2 separate regions of the Homo sapiens genome follow, and region 2 is linked to region 1. The links are contacts of gene promoters, found by promoter capture Hi-C in blood cells and fetal thymus (Javierre and others, 2016). All regions are on one chromosome and are shown on one strand. Each heading gives the region's core, a stretch centred on a gene start or on the middle of the fragment in contact. The rest is flanking DNA. Distances are from core to core; before and after follow the strand shown.

What was found. The method cuts DNA at HindIII sites, captures the fragments that hold promoters and counts their contacts. A CHiCAGO score of 5 or more calls a contact.
Region 2: a fragment that was not itself captured here is called in contact with the fragment with the promoter of ZMYND15 in region 1 in 14 of 17 cell types (erythroblasts, naive B cells, megakaryocytes and 11 more); the score reaches 10.0 in erythroblasts.

Annotation. Positions count from the first base shown.
Region 1 is chr17:4,735,332-4,741,476 of GRCh38, forward strand. It overlaps ZMYND15 (zinc finger MYND-type containing 15), which reads left to right and starts at 4,502. Exons shown (of 14, transcript NM_001136046.3): 1 at 4,502-4,719; 2 at 5,188-5,809. The coding sequence starts at 5,218. CXCL16 (C-X-C motif chemokine ligand 16) reads right to left here and starts at 4,597. Exons shown (of 6, transcript NM_001386809.1): 1 at 3,930-4,597; 2 at 3,451-3,589; 3 at 3,077-3,159; 4 at 1-177. The coding sequence starts at 4,008. RefSeq lists enhancers at 3,110-4,015, 4,016-4,920 and a silencer at 4,469-4,688. The HindIII fragment of the contact is 8,207 bases long and covers 1-6,145 here.
Region 2 is chr17:4,836,421-4,842,070 of GRCh38, forward strand. All of the region lies in intron 1 of MINK1 (misshapen like kinase 1), which reads left to right. Among named protein-coding and RNA genes, the nearest start is that of MINK1, 5.9 kb to the left of the region's middle. The HindIII fragment of the contact is 1,041 bases long and covers 1,149-2,189 here.

The DNA.
Region 1 (6,145 bases), core at 3,252-5,751:
AGGACAGTGATCCTACTGGGAGGGTGGGGCGCTGAGTGGACTGCAAGGTGGACAGGAGCATCTGGGCAGGGGTGTGGATATCTGAAGATGCCCCCTCTGAGGCCTGAGAAATTGGGGGGCTGGTAGGAAGTAAATGCTTCTGGTGGGCCACAATCCCCGAGTAAGCATGTCCACATTCTGGAAAGGAAAGAAATGAGGAATCAGGACTATCAGGAGACAAGGTGAAAAAGCAGATAGAGGTGTAGGGGAGAAAAAGTAATATCTTTTCCTCACCCATCGCAAGGGTCAAGGCTGATACCCCTATAAATAAAAAACATTAACAAGAGAAAAGCCTAACATTTATTTAATCACAGTTTTACATGACATAGGAACCTTCAGAAACAAAGACCCGAGAAAAGTGCATTTTTATGCTTAGGCTTGCTGTGAAGAATGGACAGCTGTATAGACGTATGATTGGATTGGCCGGGCGCGGTGGTTCACGCCTGTAATCCCAGCACTTTGGGAGGCTGAGGTGGGTGGATCACCTGAGGTCGGGAGTTCGAGACCAGTCTGACCAACATGGAGAAACCCAGTCTCTACTAAAAATACAAAATTAGCCAGGCATGGTGTCATGTGCCTGTAATCCCAGCTACATGGGAGGCTGAGGCAGAATCGCCTGAACCCAGGAGGTGGAGGTTGCAGTGAGCCAAGATTGCACAACTGCATTCCAGCCTGGGCAACAAGAGCGAAACTCCATCTCAAAAAAAAAAAAGAAGTATGATTGGACAAAAAGGGTATGATCTAATGGCAATAAATGGGGGGTGGGGGACCAGCAAGGCCTGTCCAGATTCTTCTTGGCCTCCAAGTATAGGGCAGGACCCATCTGAAATGAGAGCCTATGACCTACTTCCACGTGAAGTTAGAGAATTCCTTTATGGCCAGCTCTCACAGAAAAACAGAGCAGAGTGAGCTACTTACTTCTGCTGTTTTCGTAATTACCAAGGTGCCATGTTTTGGAGTGTCATGTTCTGAGCTCCAACAGAGGGAAGAGTGAGTCAGGGAGGTTATCACGCTGAAGGCCAGAAGAGGAAGGCAGATGACAGACGGAAAAGGTAGGGGACAAGGAAGTGAGCGAACCACGAGACAAGTGGGTGTCATGAACTGGGAAATCAGAAGACCAGGGTTGGATTCCAAGCTCTGCTGTAAAGTAGCTGTGTAACCTCAAGTAGCTGTGTAACCTCACCCCTTGTCCCTAACCTCTCCGGAAGTGATATCTTCCAGCTGTAAAATGAGGATAATTGTAGTACCAAGGGCCAGGGTTCCTGGGAGGATGAAAGGAAATCATAGAGGTCTAGGCAGACTTAAAGGCAGTATGGATGACACAGATCCTACAAAACTTTAGCTAGGACATGGAAGAACCTTTTGTATTTTAATGGTTGTATATTTATTTTAAGAGAAAAATATAACCAATGCATCAAACTTGTGACTTCACAGATATTATTGCTTAGGATAATTTACTATTTAAGTTTTCTTTCTTTTTTTTTGTTGCCCAGGCTGGAGTGCAATGGCCTGATCTCGGCTCACTGCAACCTCCGCCTCCAGGTTCAAGTGATTCTCCTGCCTCAACCTCCTGAGTAGCTGGAATTACAGGCACATGCCACCATGCCTGGCTAATTTTGTATTTTTAGTAGAGATGGGGTTTTACCATGTTGGTCAGGCTGGTCTCAAACTCCTGACCTCAGGTGATCCACCGGCCTCAACCTCCCAAAGAGCTAGGATTACAGGAGTGAGCCACCGTCCTGGCCTCTACTTAAGTTTTCAAAACTAGTTTGTGCACACTTAAAAGTAATTCATTTCATTGTATGTAAATTTGAACTCAAAAGAAAAAAAAGCATTAAAATATTGAACTCTACTTAATATACATGCTGAAATGTCTTGGGATGAAGTGCAATGATGTCCACAATCTGCCTTGAAATGCATCAAGAGGCCGGGCACTGCGGTTCACACCTGTAATCCCAGCACTTTGGGAGGCTGAGGCAGGTGGATCACCTGAGGTCAGGAGTTTGAGACCAGCCTGACCAACACGGTGAAACCCCATCTCTACTAAAAAAATACAAAAATTAGCTGGGCATGGTGGCGGGCACCTGCAATCCCAGCTACTCGGAAGGCTGTGGCAGGAGAATTGCTTGAACCTGGGAGGCGGAGGCTGCAGTGAGCTGAGGGCACCATTGCACTCCAGCCTGGGCGACAGAGCAAGACTCCATTAAAAAAAAAAAAAAAAAAAAAAAAGAAATGCATCAAGAAATAAGGTGATGGATGATGGATAGAAGAATGAATAGATGGATACTTAATAAAGCAAATATCGTGTAATTGCTGTAAAATTGATAGTGTAAAATATATGTTTATGTAAATATGTAAAATATACATATATAAATAAAATTGTAGAATCTAGGTGGAGGCACTGGATATTCAGTGTGCCATTCTTTCAACTTTTGTATATGTGTAAATTTTCATAATAAAATATTGGAAAAGAAAAATAGGCCAGGTGTGGTGGCTCACGCCTGTAATCCTAGCACTTTTGGAGGCCGAGGCGGGTGGATCACAAGGCCAGGAGTTCGAGACCAGCCTGGCCAACATGGTGAAACCCTGTCTCTACTAAAAATACAAAAATTAGCCAGGCTTGGTGGTGCGCGCCTGTAATCCCAGCTACTCAGGAGGCTGAGGCAGGAGAATCTCTTGAACCTGGGAGGCAGAGGTTGCAGTGAGCCAAGATCGTGCCACTGCACTCCAGCCTGGGTGACAGAGTGAGACTCCATCTCAAAAAAATAAAATAAAATAGTACTTTGATTTCAAGAAAAATATTAATAAGTAGACAATAGCACACGTGGTAGAATGAATTGGCAAAACTCATGAAGGTGATGGTGAATGATCACCCCGTTTGGCAAACAGGGACTCGAGTCTAAGTACTTTGGACAGGATCAGAAGAAGGTTCTAGGAATGTGCGGCCCCAGGGGAAAAGGCTCAGGTAAAGAAAACTGTCAGGTGGAAGCTGCTAAGCCCTGGAGGCAGAGCCTGAAGAGCAGTGGAAAAGTCTCACCTTTGAGATCAAGACAGCTCATCAATTCCTGAACCCATGGGTCCTTGTTGCCCCCACACACGCTCCAGGAAAGGAGCTGGAACCTGCGGAGGAGAGACCTGGGCTTAGCTGCGGCGCCTTCTTTCCTTCCCCGGCTCCTTCCTCATTCCAGAGGCGTGAAGTTGCCACCAAGAAAGAGCCCTTTCTCCTGGGACTGGGAAACTCCCCAGTAGGTGAGACGGAGTCATGAAGTTTCGGGGAATGAGAGCAAACGGAACCCGGAGATGGGGCTCGGTGAGCCGGGAAGGAGTTCAGGCTGGACCAGAGAGGGTCCTGGAGGCACCTGCAAGGAGGGGCCGCCCAGGCGCTGCCCTCGCAGAGGCAGGTAAAATTACCTCGTGTAGTATAGACACCGATGGTAAGCTCTCAGGTGTTTCCGGAGACGATTCATGAACTGAACCGATGGCGGGGAGTCGGAAGAAATTCTTTTACCACAATAACAACTTCCAGTGACGCTGCCCTCGTTGCCATTGCCTGCGCGGGACGGAGGTGGTCGGCACCCATTCCCAGGCCCAGGGTCCCCACTCCGCTGTTCCCTGGCATCCAATCCACAGCCCCATGACAGCCTCTCGGTGGACCCAGGGTCAGAGCGCCAGGCTCAACCCACACATCATCACGCCCCCGACAACATCCATAATCCCGCCCGGAGCCAGGCGTCCCCGGGCCTCTGTCCCCAACCCCAGGCGGCTGGCTGGCTTTCCTCTTGTCCCCGCTGCCTTCATCCACTCAACTCCGTGGGCCTCGTGTCCCCTCCCCAACTCACCCCCTTCCCGTGACAGGGGAATCTGGGTCCCCTGCCCCGCCCCCGGCTAACCTGGCTGAGTCAGGTACACCAGCAGGAGCAGAAGCAGGAGCAGGAGCACGCGGGACCCGGGCCGCAAGTCCCGTCCCATCTCGGGGCTCCGCGGACTCTGCGGGGATGGAGCCACCTCGCTCTGACTCCCAGACATGCTCCGGCGCGTGACGTCCAGCTGGTGTCTCAATGGCTTTCGCCGGGGACCGGAGGAGACGGCGGCCGGAGAGGAGGCGCGAGCCAGCTGCACCCCCCGGCCCTGCTGTGCCCCGACCGTGCGCTCAGTACTCGGCCCGCGCCATGCCAGCCTCTGGACGCAGGGAAAGCCGAGGAGGTGGAGCTCCCGCGCCCTGCGCCCCCGCACTGGGCCCGGCTCCGTCGAGGGAAGGCCAGGAATCTTGGAAGAAACCGAAAGAAAACTCCGGCGGCGGGCGAGGAGGGGCGGGAGGACGACGGCCCGAGGAGCCGATTCGGTTCGGTTCAGGAGGCCGCCCGCCTGGCCCGTCCGCCGACCTGTGAGGCGGCTGCACTGCCGGACCGGCCCTCCTCCTCCGAGGCACTTTCACTTCCCCGATCCGGGCGCCGCGGGACCCAGCCGCGCTGCATGAGCCTCCCGGGCGGCCCGGTGGAGAGAGTCGCCGCCAGCCCCGGCCGCGCGCACCTGCGGGGCAGCCACCCGCGGACGCACCGAGCCCGGGGGGCGTGGCCGCCCGCTGAGCCGGCGAGGGCTCGGGCAGCCCTGACGTCACAACCGCACCCGCGCACCCTCCACCGCGAGGTATTTACCTTCGAAAAGTGGTGGCGGCTGCAGGTACCGGAGGAGTGGGGCGGCCGGGAGGGGCTAGGTCTACCGGGGCTGCCCGCCACGCAGATCCGAGCCCAGGGAACCCCCTCGCTCCCACTCCCATACCCCACAGACGCATCCAAAATGCTTCCCTCCCCACCAAACCGTTCCCGATAGGATTAGCCCTCTCTCCTCTCTAGCCTTAATTTAAACTCTGCTTTTGAGGGTGTGAACTCTCCAATTTTAAGCCCCAAATACCATCTCATCCCTGAGTAGTCTTCTCCAACCCTGGTCACCCACTTTCAAGTCCAGCCCCCATTTTCCTCCCTAAACTCCCATCCTCAGCCCTGAAAAATCCTCTTCTCCGCTCCTAGCATATCCACGGATCCAACCCTAAGTGACTCTCAAACCTACCCTCTCCCTCAATTTGTGACCCAGCCCCAAACTCCATCATTGCTCTCCTGTCCCTCACCATATATCCCTTCTTTTGCTCAGTCTGGGCCGGGGCCCTGTGCCGCTGAAGACATGGAGTTTGTGTCTGGATACCGGGATGAGTTCCTTGATTTCACTGCCCTTCTCTTCGGCTGGTTCCGAAAGTTTGTGGCAGAGCGTGGAGCTGTAGGGACTAGCCTTGAGGGCCGCTGCCGGCAGCTGGAGGCCCAGATCAGAAGGCTACCCCAGGACCCTGCCCTTTGGGTGCTCCATGTCCTGCCCAACCATAGTGTGGGCATCAGCCTGGGGCAAGGGGCAGAACCAGGTCCTGGACCAGGCCTGGGGACTGCCTGGCTCCTGGGAGACAACCCTCCACTCCACCTGCGAGACCTGAGCCCCTACATCAGCTTTGTCAGCCTAGAGGATGGGGAGGAAGGGGAGGAGGAAGAGGAGGAAGATGAAGAAGAAGAGAAGAGAGAGGACGGGGGTGCAGGCAGCACAGAGAAGGTGGAACCAGAGGAGGACCGGGAGCTAGCCCCTACCAGCAGGGAGTCCCCCCAGGAAACAAACCCTCCAGGAGAGTCAGAGGAGGCTGCCCGGGAGGCAGGAGGTGGCAAGGATGGCTGCCGAGAGGACAGGGTGGAGAACGAAACAAGACCCCAGAAGAGGAAGGGACAGAGGAGTGGTAAGAACCCAGGGCTGGCCCTGCCCTACCCCTTGCCCAGCCATCCTCCCTTCGGAAGCCCTCCCCTGCCACTAGTTCTGAGTGCTGGCCTTCAGGCCAATCTGGCCTGAAAAGGTGTTTTTATTGACCCACAGTGGGGTTTTTTTTTTTAATTTAATGTTTAAACATTGCAAGAAAAAAAGTATCCAGAAGTCTGGATTTACACATTCCCAAGAAAAATCTCAAGCTCTGACAGTGGGCCTACATTTCTGCATGGCAGCGCATTCTGGTCCTCTGTAGCAGCTGTCCCCTTTAGAAGGAGCGTGCCCTCTCTACCCAGAGCCCTTTACTCAGTGA
Region 2 (5,650 bases), core at 419-2,918, 98 kb after region 1:
CTTTTCTCCACCAGCCTGGCTGCAGCGTGGTGAGGAAAAGCATGTGGTTTGAAGTTGCAGCCCTGAGTTCAAGTCCTAGTTTCTTCCCTTACAATGTAACCCTGGCCCTGCTCCCCTTACTGCAGATTCTGCCAAGAGCCTTACCCTCTCTAAGCTTCATTCAGTCCTGTATCGTGGGCATGGTAATAGTACTGAATGCAGAGTTGCTGAGGATTAAATGCACGTTAAGTACATAGTACAGTTCCCAGCACACAGTGATCATATATGTGATAGCCCTTTTTGCAGTTATTTTTATCAAATGGCAATCAGAGAAGCCTTCCAGGACAACTTTATCTAAAATAGCACTCCCTCCTCTGCTTTATTTTTATACAAAATTTTATATAGCATTCCCTTAGTCTGCTTTATCCTTCCTCATAGTATTTATCACCAGCTGACATATATATTCCTGTCAGCCCCACTAAAATGTCAGTTCAGTGGCCGGGTGTGGTAGCTCACGACCGTAATCCCAGCACTTTGGGAGGCCGAGGCAGATGGATCACCTGAGAGGTCAGAAGTTCGAGACCAGCCTGGCCAACATGGTAAAACCCCATCTCTACTAAAAAAAAAATACAAAAAAATTAGCCAGGCATGGTGGCGCACACCTGTAATCCCAGTTACTCGGGAGGCTGAGGCAGGAGAATCACTTGAACCTTGGAGGTGGAGGCTGCAGTGAGCCAAGATTGCACCACTGCACTCCAGCTTGGGCGACAAAGCCAGACTCTGTTTCAAACAACAACAACAACTACAACAAACAGTTCGGTGAAAGCTAAGATTTTGGCTGTTTTGTTCATTTTTGTATCCCCAGTGCCTGTAAGCATGTTTTGCACATAATGGGGGCTCAAACGTTTGTTGCAGAAGTGCCTCTTACAACACGTGCCACTTACAACACAGTGCAGTGCTTGCTTAGAGAAAGTATTCAATAAACCCCAGGCTTCTTAGGCTTCATTTTGCCCCTCTTTTATTTATGCACAATTAAGAATATATTTTTTCTGGGATGTTTTTAGAATCAGACCTTGTCTGGGGTAAACAGTTCTGGAAGCCTCCAGCTGAGCGATGCCCTTGAAGTAAAGTTAGGATCATCCAAGAGAAAATGTGGGCCTCTGTGTCTAAGCTTGGTTATATTCCAGGAGAACCTTCTGACTTGGAACTCTTGGCTTCTCACAAAGGATAAATATCAGTGGAAGTGGATGGGACAAGGAGGGGGCAGGCCCCGGCCTGACCTCTTTCCTTTTGCATTGCTCCTTTTGGTTGACCCACTTCGTAAATCAAACAGCTTCTTTTTACCATCCAGCTCGAAGTTTGACTGCAGTGTCCTTGAAACTGTGGAGCTATGCTTAGCGTCGCTGGATTGAAATCATAGCATGGAGCACATTCAAGGAGGACTTGTTGCTCGGTGGTAGCTGCTGACAGAGATGTTCTTTTTCAAATGATTTTGTGTTGTTGTGTCTGTTCTTTGGATAAGTGTCTTCGCCTTCCTCCTCTCTTCATGCGGCTGTGGAGCCAGCACCACTCGGAAAGCTGGCAGTTCTGGGCATGTATTTCTAGGCTGCTGAGCAACGTGGGACTGCCTCTGTGTTCTGATGTGCTAGCTGTCCAAATGTTGATGACAGATGCCTTAGGCAGGAGAATGGGAAGAGTGACCTCCTGCTGCAGAAGTAAGGACATTCAATAGTGACTTTTTTCCCCTGGAAAATTGCAAAAGGGGAATGGGGCTGTTTGGAGAGCTCGAGGCATTTAGATGAAGTGAAATGCTGCCTTGGCAAAATGACGGAAGGAAGATTACTGAGAACTTGGCTGAAACTAGGTGATCAGTCATTCCCCAAACAGAGGGAGAGACATCCCCACCCTTTATGCTATGGGATAGGACAGTTTGCCATAGTCCTTAGGGATATACACAGCAGGGAGGTTTTGACAGTTAAGATAACAGTAAGGTCAGCAAGAGAGCCAGCTGGCCCACCCCCTCACTCTTGCCCCAGGAGCTCAATTAAAACTCTGCTGGGTAGAATCCTGACTTCACATCTGGCCTCCATTCCTTTCCGCATTGAACTGTGTGCCTAAGACAGGGTAGCACACACAACTTGCACATGTAAACCATCTTTGTTTGTCATTTAGGGGACATGATGGCAGGAAGTGTGCAGCCGCTCTTGATAAGCTTGTATTCTGGTGTAGGTCTGTAGATAAGGCATGCAGTAACCTCTCAACCCAGAAACATAAAGCAATTCTGGACTGGAGAACATCTCCAGAAGCCGGTGAGAGTCTGCCTGTCTAATATTTCTGTCTCCAGACAAAGTTGAATCAGAGAAAGTTATCAATAATCCCCTGTCCTCCACCAGTCAGTCGCCAAGCATTGGCAGTCTATGTATTGAGAATCAGGTTCCAGATTCTATGGAAAGGATGTAATATAGTACTCAGTCCTCTACTAAGCTATTTAACCAGATCTCTGGGGACATCCACCCAAGCAAAGCAATGCCTTTCCAAGCCTAGACTCTTTTTTTTTTTTTTGAGACGCAGTCTCGCACTGTCGCCCAGGCTGGAGTGCAGTGGCGCGATCTTGGCTCACTGCAAGCTCCACCTCCCAGGTTCACGCCATTCTCCTGCTTCAGCCTCCCGAGTAGCTGGGACTATAGGCGCCCGCCACAATGCCTGGCTAATTTTTTGTATTTTTAGTAGAGACGGGGTTTCACCGTGTTAGCCAGGATGGTCTTGATCTCCTGACCTTGTAATCTGCCCGCCTCAGCCTCCCAAAGTGCTGGGATTACAGGCGCGAGCCACCGTGCCCGGCCTAGACTCTTTTTCTTAACTGTTACTGTTTTCCTCAATATCCTGCAACCTTCAAGGTTGGGACATTTTTGTTAAACCTGATTTCCATGAATTACACTCATTTTCTGTGGTCAGTGGGCAGTCATCTTGAAACCTGGTCTTCAGCCCCACTCCCTTCGACACCTACTTTTTACTACTATCTGTCTCAGTCTTCTCTTTCCTGGATTGAAGACAGAACAAAAGTGATCAGGTTAATAAGTCAACTCTCAAAGCATTTCTTGAATTCACACAGAGTATAGTAAGATACAAAAACGTGACTTGGTAGAAGACTTGGATCCTGTCCACAGCTCACGGCCATTTGCTCTCTCCAGTTCTTTTGCCATTCTCCTCCGAACCAACCAGTCCTTGACTTGAGACTGGGCTTCTCTTATCTATAGGAAGCTCTTCTAGGGGGTAATGGAAAAAGGGTTTTGAGGCTCTTTGTTCTTACTAAGGGCGGGAATAGTAAAGGGAGGAGAGAAAAGAGGGATGGAATTGTAGTGACCCAAGAGAGCCCCTGGAGATTTTGTCCAGTGGCTAGACAGCCTGAGGTTGTACGTGCTACGTGTGGGTAGGATTTTGTGTTCTGTTTGAGGAAAGATCTAGAACTAGGCACAGAGGACACAGTGGTGATACAGTCTAGTAGTAGGGAGAGACATTAATCAAGTAATTATTTATTAATGTGTGTGTGTGTGTGTGTGTGTGTGTGTGTGTGTGTGTGTGTGTGATTGCAAGCCATGATAAGGACTGTAGTGAAAACTTTAACATGCCGTGGGCACATATAACAAGAGTTGTTTTGAGCATATGTTCTCAGGATCTCCTGAGGGCTGTGTCATGGAAAAAAAATTGCTTTTACGAGACAAAACTTTTATAAGACAAAAATATCTAGTTGATTGAGAGAGACGTAAATCATGTCAGAAAGCTAAACTGGCATTGCTGCAGAAAGATGAGATAGAGTTGAACCAGCAGGTAGAGTTTGGTGATGGTGAGAATTGGGAGACTCTGGAATGGGGCCATTCTTATGGTGAAGCATTTGGTCAACAATTGAGGGCAAGAAGCCTGAGGATGGGGTGGAAACTCCAGGCTTAATTCCAAAAGGATTTCTTCTGAATCTTCCTGTGGGAGGGGAAAAAAAATGGTTTATTTGTTTGTCTCAAAAGTTAAGAGCATGTATATGGAAAGAGCTTATGACTCATATAATCCTCATTTTTACTTACTGGGGGAGGGACTCTGGGTCCTGGGTCTGTAGTTTAGATGTGGCTCCTCAGAATGGGGTATATGAGAGAGGAGGGTGTATCCCTAGATGTTATTAGCCTAAGGGGTGCCTGGAGTTTGGAAGGTAGGTGAGTCTCACGGAAATAAGAACAAGTAGGCCCAGCCCTCAGCTTAGCTGCATGGTCTGTGGGAAGTGGGATTCTTTCTAACATTGGATAGATAGTGTATATAAATAGACAAGACTCTCCATTTACATTGTATACAAGTAAAGGATGAGTGGGGTGTGGAGGGGGAGTGTTACTGATTTTGCGTGTTTGAAAGGAAACAGGGTTGGGGAAGCCACAAGTCTTGGGCTTCCTGAAGGAGCCAGGCTCTGGGACCAGCTTGAATGTCGGGAGGATGGCAGCGTAGAAGACGGTGAGGTGGGCTGTGAGGAGAGTTTGGTGGCACAGCCTGTGGGAGGAGCCTGGGTGGCTGGAGAGAGATGAATGGAGGAAATGGGGACGAGCTGCCTAAGAAACGTGGTGATAGTTGGCGAGGGAGGAGACAGGAAGACCTTTGACAGAGGAGATAGCTGAGACCTCAGGTTCATCCACAGCAGGTAAATTCCAGGGCCACACGGGACAGGCGACGTGGGGAGTGTCTGTGGTCACAACTGGGGGCCCCAGCACTTAGAGCCTGTGACTCAGTATGTACACGTAGCACCAAATGCTTTTTGGTTCTGTCTTGGGCATCTCCGCACGGGCACTTCCGCCAGTGGTTTCTTCCATTGCCTTTGGGATGAGCAGGCCTCCTGAAAGCAGGCCTGATATTCTCTGGTCTTCTGACAAAGAATGGGAAATTTCTCACACCGTCTTGTTCCAGGAACCACCTGGGGATGGGATTTGAAGGGCTTGGGTTGCCGAATTGCTCCTAGAACCACAGGCTTAGAGGAGTTTTCTATGAACAGCGGTCCTGGCAGGGACAGACTGAGGATCGGTAGGGCTGAATGAAGACAATCCCACCTCCTTCAAGAGCCACCTCAACTTATGTTTTTTTCCCACAAAGCCCCCCCTCCGATTTTGCCAGCCTTTACTGATCACATCATCCACTTTCTCACAGACCTTACAATTTAGCATTGGCTTATATATTGCCTTATATTGAATAATGTTTTATGGTCTTGTTTTTCCTACCACTTCCTTATGTGTAGAGACTGTGATCCATATTTCCTCTTGATCCCTGTAAAGATGCTGAGCACACAGTAGGGGTTCAGAAATTACTTGGTAAGAGACATGGATCTAAGTATGTCTGTGACTGGACCTTTCCTACTAGATTCAATCCACAATTAGTACAGGGTGCCCAGTATATGCTGGGCACGGTGGGATACAAAGCAGTACAGGTGCTGACTCTGGTTCTCAGCCAGGGCACCGCTGGCCTCCAGGGGGTGTTCGGAAATGCTGAGGAGGGAGGATTAACTGTCTTGGGAGCACCGGGCACGGTGGCTCACGCCTGTAATCCCAGCACTTTGGGAGGCCGAGGCGGGCGGATCACGAGGTCAGGAGATCGAGACCATCCTGGCTAACACGGTGAAACCCCGTCTCTACTAAAAATACAAAAA